Linked DNA regions of Homo sapiens: all the other regions are linked to region 1. Evidence: promoter capture Hi-C in 16 types of primary human blood cells and fetal thymus (Javierre and others, 2016). All regions are on one chromosome and are shown on one strand. The core of a region is centred on a gene start or on the middle of the fragment in contact, and the rest is flanking DNA. Distances in the headings are between cores, read along the strand shown. Region 1 holds the start of VSIG4 (V-set and immunoglobulin domain containing 4). Region 2 has its middle 160 kb from the start of MSN. Region 3 has its middle 120 kb from the start of MSN. Region 4 has its middle 110 kb from the start of MIR223HG.

Region 1 (2,805 bases), core at 281-2,780:
ATAAAATGCAAGAGGTAGCACAAAACACACAATCACCTGGCCAGGCAGAAATTTACATCTGTCCAGTGGGCTTTTTAGCGGGGAAGGGGAGGGGTGTGTGTGTGTGTATGTGTGTGCGTGTGTGTGTGTGTGTGTGTGTGTGTGTCTGTGCGGTGGTGGTGGTGTAGTGGTGATAGGGTGTTGGTTGAAAAATATCAAAGGAGGGTTCTGTGAAGTTCAGGGTTTCCTGAGTGAGGACCCGGTGGGAAAAAATGGCTGAAATTTCCAGTGAGATGGAATGAGTGCAGTACTCAAAAAACAAGGAACAACCAGCCAAGGGGGATTGGGCCCTAGAGGCAGAGGTGATTGATAGAATTCCATGTAATAATGTGTCCTGAAATGCTGGAATGTCTCCTTAGCCCGTGCACAGCTCCAAATCATCTGCATGCAGCCACCCCTTGGCAAGTATGTTTCTTTATATTCCCACTCCCCATCTCTGCACAAACTCCTCCCTCCCCTGACCAAGTCCTTTCCTATCCCTCCAATCAAAGAGTAAACTAAGCTTAGCTGTTACTTACAGTGCAGTATGAATTTTTGGGATGTATTTGTGCTTTTGAAAGTGCTTATTGTTTCAAAGCTTAGTAGACAAAGCGCAGTGCCAAACCTAGTTAGACTGCTGATGAAATTACAGTCACTCTGGGGCCTGTGAAGAGGAGCAATTTCTGGAGCAGTTGAGCTTTGCTAGGAGGCATAATATTACTCTCTTGTAGGTCAAGGGCCTGTACCAATTGGAAGTCAATGAAAAATTCAACCTAATACAGCATACCACTAATGGGCTGCTGCACTGGAGGCTAGGCTTAAATTTCCCTTAAAAGAAGTAAAAAATAAATTCCTTATGAAAAAGCATGGAGAACATTAATGAAAATGAATTCTCCCTTACCATCAGAGAGGTGGAGCCATTGTAGAAAGTGATTCAAAGAGCTTCCCCAATATGAGATATGAGGCATATTCACCCATAACAGCCTTATCCATTGGCTTGTCAATTATTCAAGCTTTGATGTGTAGAAAGCCCTTTAATACACTAAACTCTTGTACTCTTAAGCCCAAAAGCACCCCGGGCCCAACACCCTGTCCAGTTGCATAGGCTGCACAGGCAAGGGTTAACAGTACAACTAATGAAAATTGGGTAGGTCAGCAAAGTTGATCTCTTCTCCCTGGGCTCACCACAAAGGAAAACACCGCCATACTGGAGTGGGAAGACTCATCCCAAAGGTCGCCCCCACAACCTCTGAATCTTGTGGAGGAGACTCAAAATAAATACAGCCTAGGAGATCAAAGACCAGAAAGCCCCATTGGCTCCAAGGAAAGTCAAGTCAATACCCTAGCAGGGGGAAGAATTGCTTCACTCATCCTGGAACCTCCAACCCCAAGGAGGTGGGGGAAGGGGGGCACCCCACATGACCTGTACTGAAATAGGGAAGGAAGGGGAATGTGTGATGGGACTAGGAGTTTGAGTGAGAGATATAGGGAAGGAAGGGAAGTAAGCAGTCACAGACGCTGGCGGCCACCAGAAGTTTGAGCCTCTTTGGTAGCAGGAGGCTGGAAGAAAGGACAGAAGTAGCTCTGGCTGTGATGGGGATCTTACTGGGCCTGCTACTCCTGGGGCACCTAACAGTGGACACTTATGGTAAGGCAGAAAGGGGGGCCTGGCTGCCATTGCTGGCTTAGGCAAAAGGCTAGAGGGTTGGTGTTTAATGTCTACTATGGAAAGCCTATTCCTACTGGGCAGGTGAGTCTTCTCAGCCAAACTCTGCAGGCTCTCTCAGCCTTGAGCAAAACGGATGGATGTAGTTGAAGGCTGCTGAAGAAGCCAGAAGGCAAGTTTGGGCAGAAATTGAAAAAGGATTTTTCTCTTGGAAAACATCTGCATTATTTTCTAGGGCTTGTATCTCAGGGGCATCAAGAAGGTTCCCAATGACATCCGAATCTTTCCTCCATCTGCTGTCTCTCATCTAAAATTCTACAATTGGACTTAACCACTCTGCTTCCAAGCTTTGGTCTCTGTTAAAATATACAGCCCCCGAAGAAGGAGTGTTTTCTAAGAGTTGGATAGGACTATAGAAGTAACCTATACCACCCTTCATTGTCATGAATAAGTGCTCAGAAACATCCAGTAGTGATTGAGATTTCACTGTTCACTACCTCCCCAGACCATCTAGTCCATCCAGGAGCAGCTCCAACTGTTAGAAAGTTCTTATTTGTGTTGAACTAAATCCAGTTCCCTCTGACTTCCATCCAAAAACCCCAGCTTTGCTTCTTGGGGCTACACAGAACATAGATGCTTCCTTGCCCTGTGATAGCCCTTCAAAGCCCTGAGGACAAGTACTATGTCTCCTTGACTCTTCTCTCCTCCAAGCTGAACAGCCCCAGCTTTTTCAACTGGTCTTCATAGGACTTGGTTTCTTACCCATTCCTGGGATAACTCACTTCCCTATAGACATGGCTCAATTTGTCTGGGCTATTTATGGGCTGGATACAAATCCCAAAGGAGGATGGACTATTCCATAGTGGCATTATTTCCTTGGAGCTTGGGAAGCTCTATCCTCATCTACACTCCTGAGAAGTGAGATGGATTTTCAGGAAACTCAACCTGGGTAACAGCTAAGTGAGATCCAATATAGGGTAAAGGGGGATTTTGCTGCTTCCCTATCATCCCTAGAGAAAAAGGCTGGATAGGTGTTAGCTTGGTGTCACTTGTTAGGTCAGAAAGAATCCAGCTTTCCGTAGCTGACTCTGATTAGGTTACCCTATCCTGGGGCTCTGTGA
Region 2 (2,700 bases), core at 38-2,537, 210 kb after region 1:
TATATTTAGATTGTGATAGACCTTTTATCATTATATAATATCCCTCTTTGTCTTTTTTAACTGTTGTTCCTTAAAGTTTGTTTTGTCTGATATAAGAATAGCTACTGCTTTTGGCGTCCATTTGCATGGAATATCTTTTTCCACCCCTTTACCTTAAGTTTATATAAATCCTTATATATTAAGTAAGGCTCTTGAAGAAAGCAGATATTTGGTTGGTGAATTCTTATCCATTATGCTATTCTGTATCTTTTAAGTGGAGCATTTAGGCCATTTACATTCAGCATTAGTACTGAGATGTGAGGCACTATTCTATTCATCATGCTAGTTGTTGCCTGAATACCTTTCAGTTTTTTTTATTGTGTTATTGTTTTATAGGTCTTGTGAGATTTATGCTCTAAGAAGGTTCTATTTTTGTGTATTTTGACTAAGAATGTTCTATTTTCGTGTATTTTGAGTTTTTGTTTCAAGATTTAGAGGTCCTTTTAGCAGTTCTTGTAGTTCTGGCTTGGTAGCGGCAGATTCTCTCAGCATTGTCTGAAAAAGACTGTGTCTTTCCTTCATTTTTGAAGCTTAGTTTCACTGAATACAAAATTCTTGACTGACAATTGTTTTGTTTAAGGCTAAAGATAGGACCCCAATCCCTTCTAGCCTGTAGGATTTCTGCTGAGAAATCAGCTGTTAATCTGATTAGTTTTACTTTATAGGTTACCTGATACTTTTGCCTCACAGCTCTTAAGATTCTTTCCTTCATCTTGACTTTAGATACTCTGATAACTATGTGCCTAGGCAATAATCTTTTTGCAATATATTTTCTTGGTGTTTTTGAACTTCTTGTATTTGGATGTCTAGATCTCTAGCAAGGCCAAGGAAGTTTTCCTCAATTATTCCCTCAAATATGTTTTTTCAAACTTTTAGATTTCTCTTCTTCCTCAGGAACACCAGTTATTCCTAGGTTTGGTCATTTAACATAATCTCAAAATTCTTGGAAGATTTGTTTACTTTTTTAAATTCTTTTTTCTTTATCTTTGTCAGATTTGGTTAATTCAAAACCTTGTCTTCCAGCTCTAAAGTTTTTACTTCTATTTTTTAAATTTTATTATTGAGACTTTAATTTGCATTTTGCATTTCTCTAAGTGTGTCCTTCATTTCCAGAAGTTGTGATTGTTTTTTATTTGTGCTATCTATTTCTCTGGAGATTTTTTATTCATATCCTCTAACACTAAAAAAAAATTTTAAGTTGGTATTCACCTTTCTCTTGTGCCTCCTTGAGTAGCTTAATAATTCACCTTCTGAATTATTCATCTGGCAATTCAAAGTTTCATTATTTGTTTGGACCCATTGATGGTGAGCTAGTGTGATCTTTTAGGGGTGTTAAGGAACATTGCTTTGACATATTACCCGAATTGTTTTTCTGGTTCCTTCTCATTTAAGTAGACTATATCAGAGGAAGGATTTGGGGTTCAAGGGCTACTGTTCATATTTTTTTGTCCCACAGAGTGCTCCCTTGTTGTGATGCTCTCTCCCTTTCTCTAGGGATGGGGCTTCCTGAGAGCCTGACTGCCATGATTGTTATTTCTCTTCTGGGTTTATCCACCAATGGAGCTATCAGGCACTGGGCTGGTACTGAGGAGTGTCTGCAAAAAGTTCTGTGATGTGATCCATCTTCAGGTTTCTCAGTTGTGGAGACAGGCACCTACTCCAGCGGAGGTAACAGAGGAGTGAAGTGGACTCTGTGTGGGACCTTGACTGTAGTTTTGTTTAGTGTGCTGTTTTTCTCAACTGCTGGTTGTGCTGGCTGTAAAATTGTCATGTGGATAGCCTCAGGACCTCTGGCTAGCCAGGATGTTACAGGCGGTGGGATTAGCTGTTGATTTCTCTTCTCATGGGGCAGGTTTGTTCTGTTATGAGTTGCTGTAGTGGTTTAAGTTGGTTGTTCCCAAGCTAGGAAGTGGCACTTTCAAAAGAGAGCATCAGCTGTGGTAGTATAGAGAGGATACAAGCTTACCCTAGGGTTGCCTGGATAAGTACTTGGGTTTCTTAGGTGTTGCATGGGGCCATACGGCTCCCAAGAGATTATGTTTCTTGTCTTTGGCTACCAGCGTGGGTAGAGAAAGACCATCAGGTGGGGAAAGGGTTAGGCATATCTAACCTTAGACTCTTCTTGAGTGGGGCTTGCTGCAGCCACTATGGGGGATGGGGGTGTGTTTCCCAGGCAGATGATGTTATGTTCCCAGGGGATTATGGCTGCCTCTGTTGTGTTATACAGGTCACCAGGGAAGTAGGGGAAAGCCAGCAGTGACAGGCCTCACCCAGCTCCTACTCAGACAGAAAGGCCAATCTTACTTCTGCCACACTCCCCCAACAGCACAAGTTTATATCCAGGCAGCCGGTGAGCAGGGCTTGGAACTTGAGCCAGGCTACAAGCATCCTTGTTGAGAAAGCAAACAGGGATTTTCTTGCTGAGAAAGCAAACAGGGCTTTCAGCTTTGCCCCTCCCCACTGTGGCTTCTGTGCTCATATCTGCATTTCTTGTTCACCCCCACTCCCGGATTCTGCCCTGGAAAATTTGTGCTTGGTCAAAATTATTACAAAGTTCAGCTGGAAGTTTCCTTCTCCCTGTGATCTTTCCCCAATTTCACTGGCACCCTCCCCAAAAACCCCTGTGAGATAACATCAGAAATGGGTTCCCTGGGCTTCCTT
Region 3 (2,780 bases), core at 68-2,567, 260 kb after region 1:
CCTCTCTTTTTATTTCTGAGCCTTGCTTGGACCTTGGCATTCCATTTGAATTCCTTCTGACTGGAGCATTTGTGTTGTATCTGTTAACACTGGCACTGAAATAAAGACCACATGGTTAAAGAAATCTTCCCTATATTGTACTTTATGGTGTCGGAGTGAAGCCTTGTAGCTTCCTTGCCCCCATGTCAGAGGAAGTCTTATGGATACCATAGGGTAGGAATAGCCTTTCCTGAGTCTGAGAAATTGGTCTCTTTTAAGACAAATCTCAGAAATATCCACATCAAAGACTTGAGATTTTTAAACTAGTGAGAGTGCCAAGTGCTTTTTAGAAAGGACCCATGTGTTATTAAACTTCGAAACTGAGTTACTGGAATGAAGTAGATGTGACTCTCTCTGTGGTACATGATGAATGTACTATGTACGTTCAAGTATTCAGGCACCACGTCTTATATACTGAAGAAGAAAGAAAAAGTGAGGCCCACTTTGCTCTTATAATGTTTGCAATTGTTACTGTATTGAATACAGTATAATGACTACTTTGGCTTCAATCTTAAACCTGGAAACAAATATCCTTTTTTTCCCCTCCATTTCACCAAGCCTTTACTTAAAATCTTCAGTGTCTCGTCAAATATAGCTCTGTATCAGATACTAGACTATTCCTAACATTTGACAAACTAGAGTTTAACTAAAGGCTCCACAGGGGAAAGTTTTGGTCTTATTAGTATGTATGAGCAAGATCTGCTAAAACTTACTCCACTGGGTAAATGGTTGACTGAGTCAATCACAGGATATTATCTCCTCCATAGTTTTCAGTAATGTAAGTGTGGACTAGTGCATATTTCAGACAACTGCTCTGCCTGTGCAATGAAAAATAGCCTTTAAGGGTTTCTTTGCAGACTGATTTCATTGGATGGATACTTAATGTTGTGAAACATGATAGGATTAACATAATGTTGGTGGATTTCTTGAATAGAATTTGTCTTAACATTCTTCTTTGTTAGATAAAATAAAGCCTGTTTGTATAGAGGCTTTATTTTTCTCTCCTATATTTGTAGCTAACCAGCTCAGGTTTTTTATTTTAATTTGAACTGGGTTGAATCTCTGAAGAAATCTGTTCAAGACCATGCTATAAGACAGTGTCAGCTAATGGAGCTGGAAAGGGTCTACTCTACTGACAGAGCATTTCCTTGGATGACCATAGTTTTGAAGTAGAGTTTATGATTATCCAAAGCTTTGTCTAGGAGTAAAATATTATGGCCTTAACACAAAGGTGCTGCGTAGAATATGAATTGATTTCGGAAACTGAACGCAAGCACCATACTGAAGGACTAGCAGTCAAATAACTGCCTAGGATACTGATGGTTGTGAAGACTAATTCAAATGATTGGATCTTTGAAAGCTTCAGCGTACCTTAGTTTCTAGGATCAGAATTAGTTTTCCTTTCACTTGGCCTTGCAGCTAAAAGGAGAAATGTTTCAATTTATGTGAATACTTGCACATTTTAATAATTCATTTCCCGAGTATAACCACTCAAGCGGGAGCAAATTTGGATGGATTTACAATTTCAGAGGCATTATGAGGAAGGAGCAATTTCCAAGGCTGTTTTGATAACCCTGGGGTGATAAGCAGTGATCTCTCACATGCTTACTTCAACAATTCCACATGCACTTGTACCTCATTATTTCCCTCCTCACGAGTCAATTTTATTCTAGTCCCTGCCCCATCCGAGGGAATCCTAAAGGAGAATTAATTCATCTAAGTAATCTCAAAAAACTGTAGGAGGGGTGCTCTCCCCTAGAAGCTTCACCCACAGTGCTTTGATGCTGTTACCTTGAGGTGCTTTGGACAGTCATGGAATTTTTAGGCTGTGTATAGTGATCATCTGTTAATTTTAAGGCCTTTCTCATTTAAAGAAACATTCCTCAGTGTAACATTTGGGAAGAGATTCTTTCCTCTTGCTAGTTTAAAGGTGTGATTTATACCCCTTGTTCATTGCATTTATATATGAAAATAGACTTTTAAAACTATCCAACACTAATGGTCGATATAACATGATTTCCATCTTTTTTATGTCCTTCTAGAAGAGATTGGAAGTTAGGAAGTACTGCTTTTGAGGTTCAACTTCATTATCTTCTGCATTGAAAAATATTTGGGCCATGAGAACTAGGGGAAATGAGTTTGAATGTGTATTTTCTTTCTAGTGTATGTATTTTAACCACAGTGTCCTAAACTGAGAAATCTAGAGAGGAAAAAGTGGGTGTTCACAAACTTTGTGGTTGGGGGAGTGATTTTACACGTCTGTATATTCATGACTTTGGGAGTGGAGAGGATCAATGAAGAGAGAATTGCACAGAAATTCTTGAAGTTGAAAACACTTTTGACCAGCTTTGGCTCAGGAGAGTGGGGCTGCTTGTAGAACTGGAAGTGAATAACTTTTTCAAGCAATATCAGTGAGTGGGTCCCATCGACAGGGTTCCAGGACCTGGAACATTCTAACAGAAGAAATTGGTGAAGCAGCTTACACAGTTGCTTTACAAACTTCCAAGGGGCTGATTCTGGCTTCGAGATGGAACATTGGAGTTGGTTTTGTTTTGTTTTCCTCAAAGAACCTGTGGTTGTGCTTTGTGTGTTTTGTTTTTGTTTTATATTTGGGGGTCCCAAGGGAAAGAGCTTCTGAACTCTTTCCTTTATGAACTCCCACTGTGTTCCTGTAAAGTTCCTTTTCTTTCATAGTGTTGTAAGTTACATTTTCATTATGTCCCTTCACATCTTCTTTACTG
Region 4 (2,700 bases), core at 41-2,540, 140 kb after region 1:
ATATCCAAATGATGCCTTCATTATAGGTCAATACTGATAATGACAGTATTGTAATGACAGTATTTAATTGAAAACTTGTACCTCAACTGAGAAACAATTAAGAATCTTTTGTCCTGAGAATAGGACAAAAGATCAATATAGGACAAGAGGAAAGGAAGACACACTTGATTTTGAAATTATAAGTTATAGGTTTGTAGGTTTAGAATTATAGGATTATAATTTTTTTGATTATGTAGTACTAAAACTCTTTGGTTTTAAGATTATTATATATCTGGAGATGATTCATTCCAACCTTCCCCAACCCTTCCTATTCAGGATTTTACACATGAAGAAAATAAGAACTGACTTGTCCAAAGCCACACAATTGCTAAGTGGTAGAGGAGAGATGAACAGATAAGACTGCATATGTCACAATTTTTCCAGGATCTATGACCTTGATTCTCTGCACTCAATTTGAATGAATGAAGTTTAAATAACACTGGACCTAATTGAAAATATTGGCTACATTTTCATTAATTTCAACCCTCATGGGTAGGTGGCTTCTGGTGCAGGATGGAGCAGAGGACATGAACAGCCAGCTTTCCCTTTGGCCCCATAGTGCTCTGGCTTTCCCTCTGACCCCTGCAGCAAAGGGAATCTGTAAACACATGAGTCCCTTTCCCACTAGGCTTTTGAGCAGTGCTCCAACCTCAGGAAGGGGACTCTCACCTGCTAAAAAAGTTTTCAAAGATCTAGGCACACAGCTTAGTCAGCAATATCTTGAGAGCTAGGAGGAACAGAACATACTCACATGCACGTAATTGCCCTATATATCTTCCCCCAAACTAGAGTCTCTGCTGGGCTGCCAGCAACTACAAAAACCAAGGTAAGAAAAGGCAGCACCTGCAATCACAGAAGGCATTTCCACCCTCTAATACACAAACAAGATAAGATCAAGGAAATAGAAGCAGAAGAAACCTGAGGAAACTTGGGAATGATGGGAGCTAGGCTCTAAGCTGTGATACACCACAACCTGACTGACCTCCAACAAGTTGCTTCCCCTCTCTAAGCCTCAGTTTCCTCATGTGTTGTTAAAATATGAGAACTTTTTTTTCTTCTTATATTGGCATTTATAAAATAGCCAGCACAATGTATATCATAATAATAGCCAGCATGGTGCCTTGCAAAATAAATATTTCTTTCTCTGTGCTCCATCTTTGTTTCCTATCAAGAATATGAGTCCCTTGATTCAAGCACTTGCCTAGTATCTTCTTCTTTTAAGTTTGGAGCCCTGCCTTGCTGTCACCAGTTGGTGCCAGGAACCTCAGTCCAAAATGTGGCTGTGGCAGTGGACCCAGTGAAGCCTAAATTACCTTTAAGTTTTAACAAACTGGTATTCTTTTTTTTTTTTAGACGGAGTCTTCCTCTGTTGCCCAGGCTAGAGTGTAGTGGCATGATCTCGGCTCACTGCAACCTCTGCCTCCCGGGTTCAAGTGATTCTCCTGCCTCAGCCTCCCGAGTAGCTGGGATTACAGGTGCCCGCCACCGTGCCCAGCTAATTGTTTTGTATTTTTTAGTAGAGACAGCGTTTCATCATGTTGGCCAAGCTGGTCTTGAACTCCTGACCTCATGATCCACACCCCTAAGCCTCCCAAAGTGCTAGGATTACAGGCATGAGCCACCGCACCCAGCCAACAATCTGATTTTCTATGAGATTGGGTTTCTTTAGTTCATTGCCCATTTAGTGCCTCTGGTATTTTTTTCATTTTTATTTTTTGGCCTCAAGATGAGCTCATCTCGAAATTTCCTCTTTATGTTTGCCTCCTGGACAGGTCCCCTTCCCTGAGCCAATCTGATGAGCTCACTGATAGCCAGGCCACAGTCCACATGCTCTAGGACAGGGGTGATAGCTATCTTATGCCTGAGCACCCTGGAAAGGCTTCCAGTTTAAGTTACCTCTCCATCCCAAGCAGTCACTTCAAAATCAGCATCCTCTGCTCCCAGCATTCTCTACACGCATCCCTGACCTGGGGCCATTCTGCCAAGTTGGTTAAAACTTTGGTCCCAGCTTCAAAATCTGTACTTTCTCTCACTTTAGTGTCAGGATTTGCTGTCTACCCACAATTCTAAGTACTCAAGAATATCTTGTTCTATCCCTCTCTTCAACTCTCATAAGCTAAAGAAGAAATCAAAATTAATCCACACTGAGGCAGTAGTAGCTATTAGCATCTACAAGTGTGGAAGAACAGGGAAAGGTCTGCTGCTTTCAAACAGGAATTAAAGCCTTTATTTATTTGGCAACTCATAAGGTAAAGAGAAATAGGGCATGGTTATGATGAAGGTGAGGTGGTGAGGGGAGACTCAGTGTCACAGAGGAAATCATTAGCAGTGACAGTGTCTAAATTATTTCTGGATCCCCAGAGAAGAAAAGAGATTTTTCCAAGGTCACATAGCACAATGCATTTCATTAAGCATTTACTGTGTTTGTATTATTCTTTATTTGGCATTGGGCCAAGCACTGGGGATCCAGCGGTAATTTAGACACAAGGATCTTACAGTGTAGTAAGAGATCTAGTCACAAGGACGAATTGATAAAGTTTCTTGACAATTATAGGTAAAGTGTGATGGTCATGTAGACGAAAGAAATTCATGCCAACTGAGCCATTGGAAAGTTTCTGGGAGTGTGGCATATTCACTGGGACTTTGACAATATATATGATT

Evidence for each region. Contacts are between HindIII fragments. The CHiCAGO score rates a contact against its expected background, and 5 or more counts as called.
Region 2: a contact is called between a fragment that was not itself captured here and the fragment with the promoter of VSIG4 in region 1, in 2 of 17 cell types (neutrophils and monocytes). The highest score is 6.2, in neutrophils.
Region 3: a fragment that was not itself captured here is called in contact with the fragment with the promoter of VSIG4 in region 1 in 7 of 17 cell types (monocytes, total B cells, neutrophils and 4 more); the score reaches 8.1 in monocytes.
Region 4: a fragment that was not itself captured here is called in contact with the fragment with the promoter of VSIG4 in region 1 in 2 of 17 cell types (neutrophils and monocytes); the score reaches 10.2 in neutrophils.

Annotation. Positions count from the first base shown.
Region 1 is chrX:66,038,805-66,041,609 of GRCh38, reverse strand. VSIG4 (V-set and immunoglobulin domain containing 4) reads left to right here and starts at 1,530. Exons shown (of 8, transcript NM_007268.3): 1 at 1,530-1,666. The coding sequence starts at 1,612. The HindIII fragment of the contact is 1,000 bases long and covers 1,034-2,033 here.
Region 2 is chrX:65,828,126-65,830,825 of GRCh38, reverse strand. No RefSeq gene overlaps it. Among named protein-coding and RNA genes, the nearest start is that of MSN, 160 kb to the right of the region's middle. RefSeq lists a silencer at 1,703-1,915. The HindIII fragment of the contact is 1,431 bases long and covers 572-2,002 here.
Region 3 is chrX:65,783,428-65,786,207 of GRCh38, reverse strand. No RefSeq gene overlaps it. Among named protein-coding and RNA genes, the nearest start is that of MSN, 120 kb to the right of the region's middle. The HindIII fragment of the contact is 168 bases long and covers 1,234-1,401 here.
Region 4 is chrX:65,901,995-65,904,694 of GRCh38, reverse strand. No RefSeq gene overlaps it. Among named protein-coding and RNA genes, the nearest start is that of MIR223HG, 110 kb to the left of the region's middle. The HindIII fragment of the contact is 4,674 bases long and covers 1-2,700 here.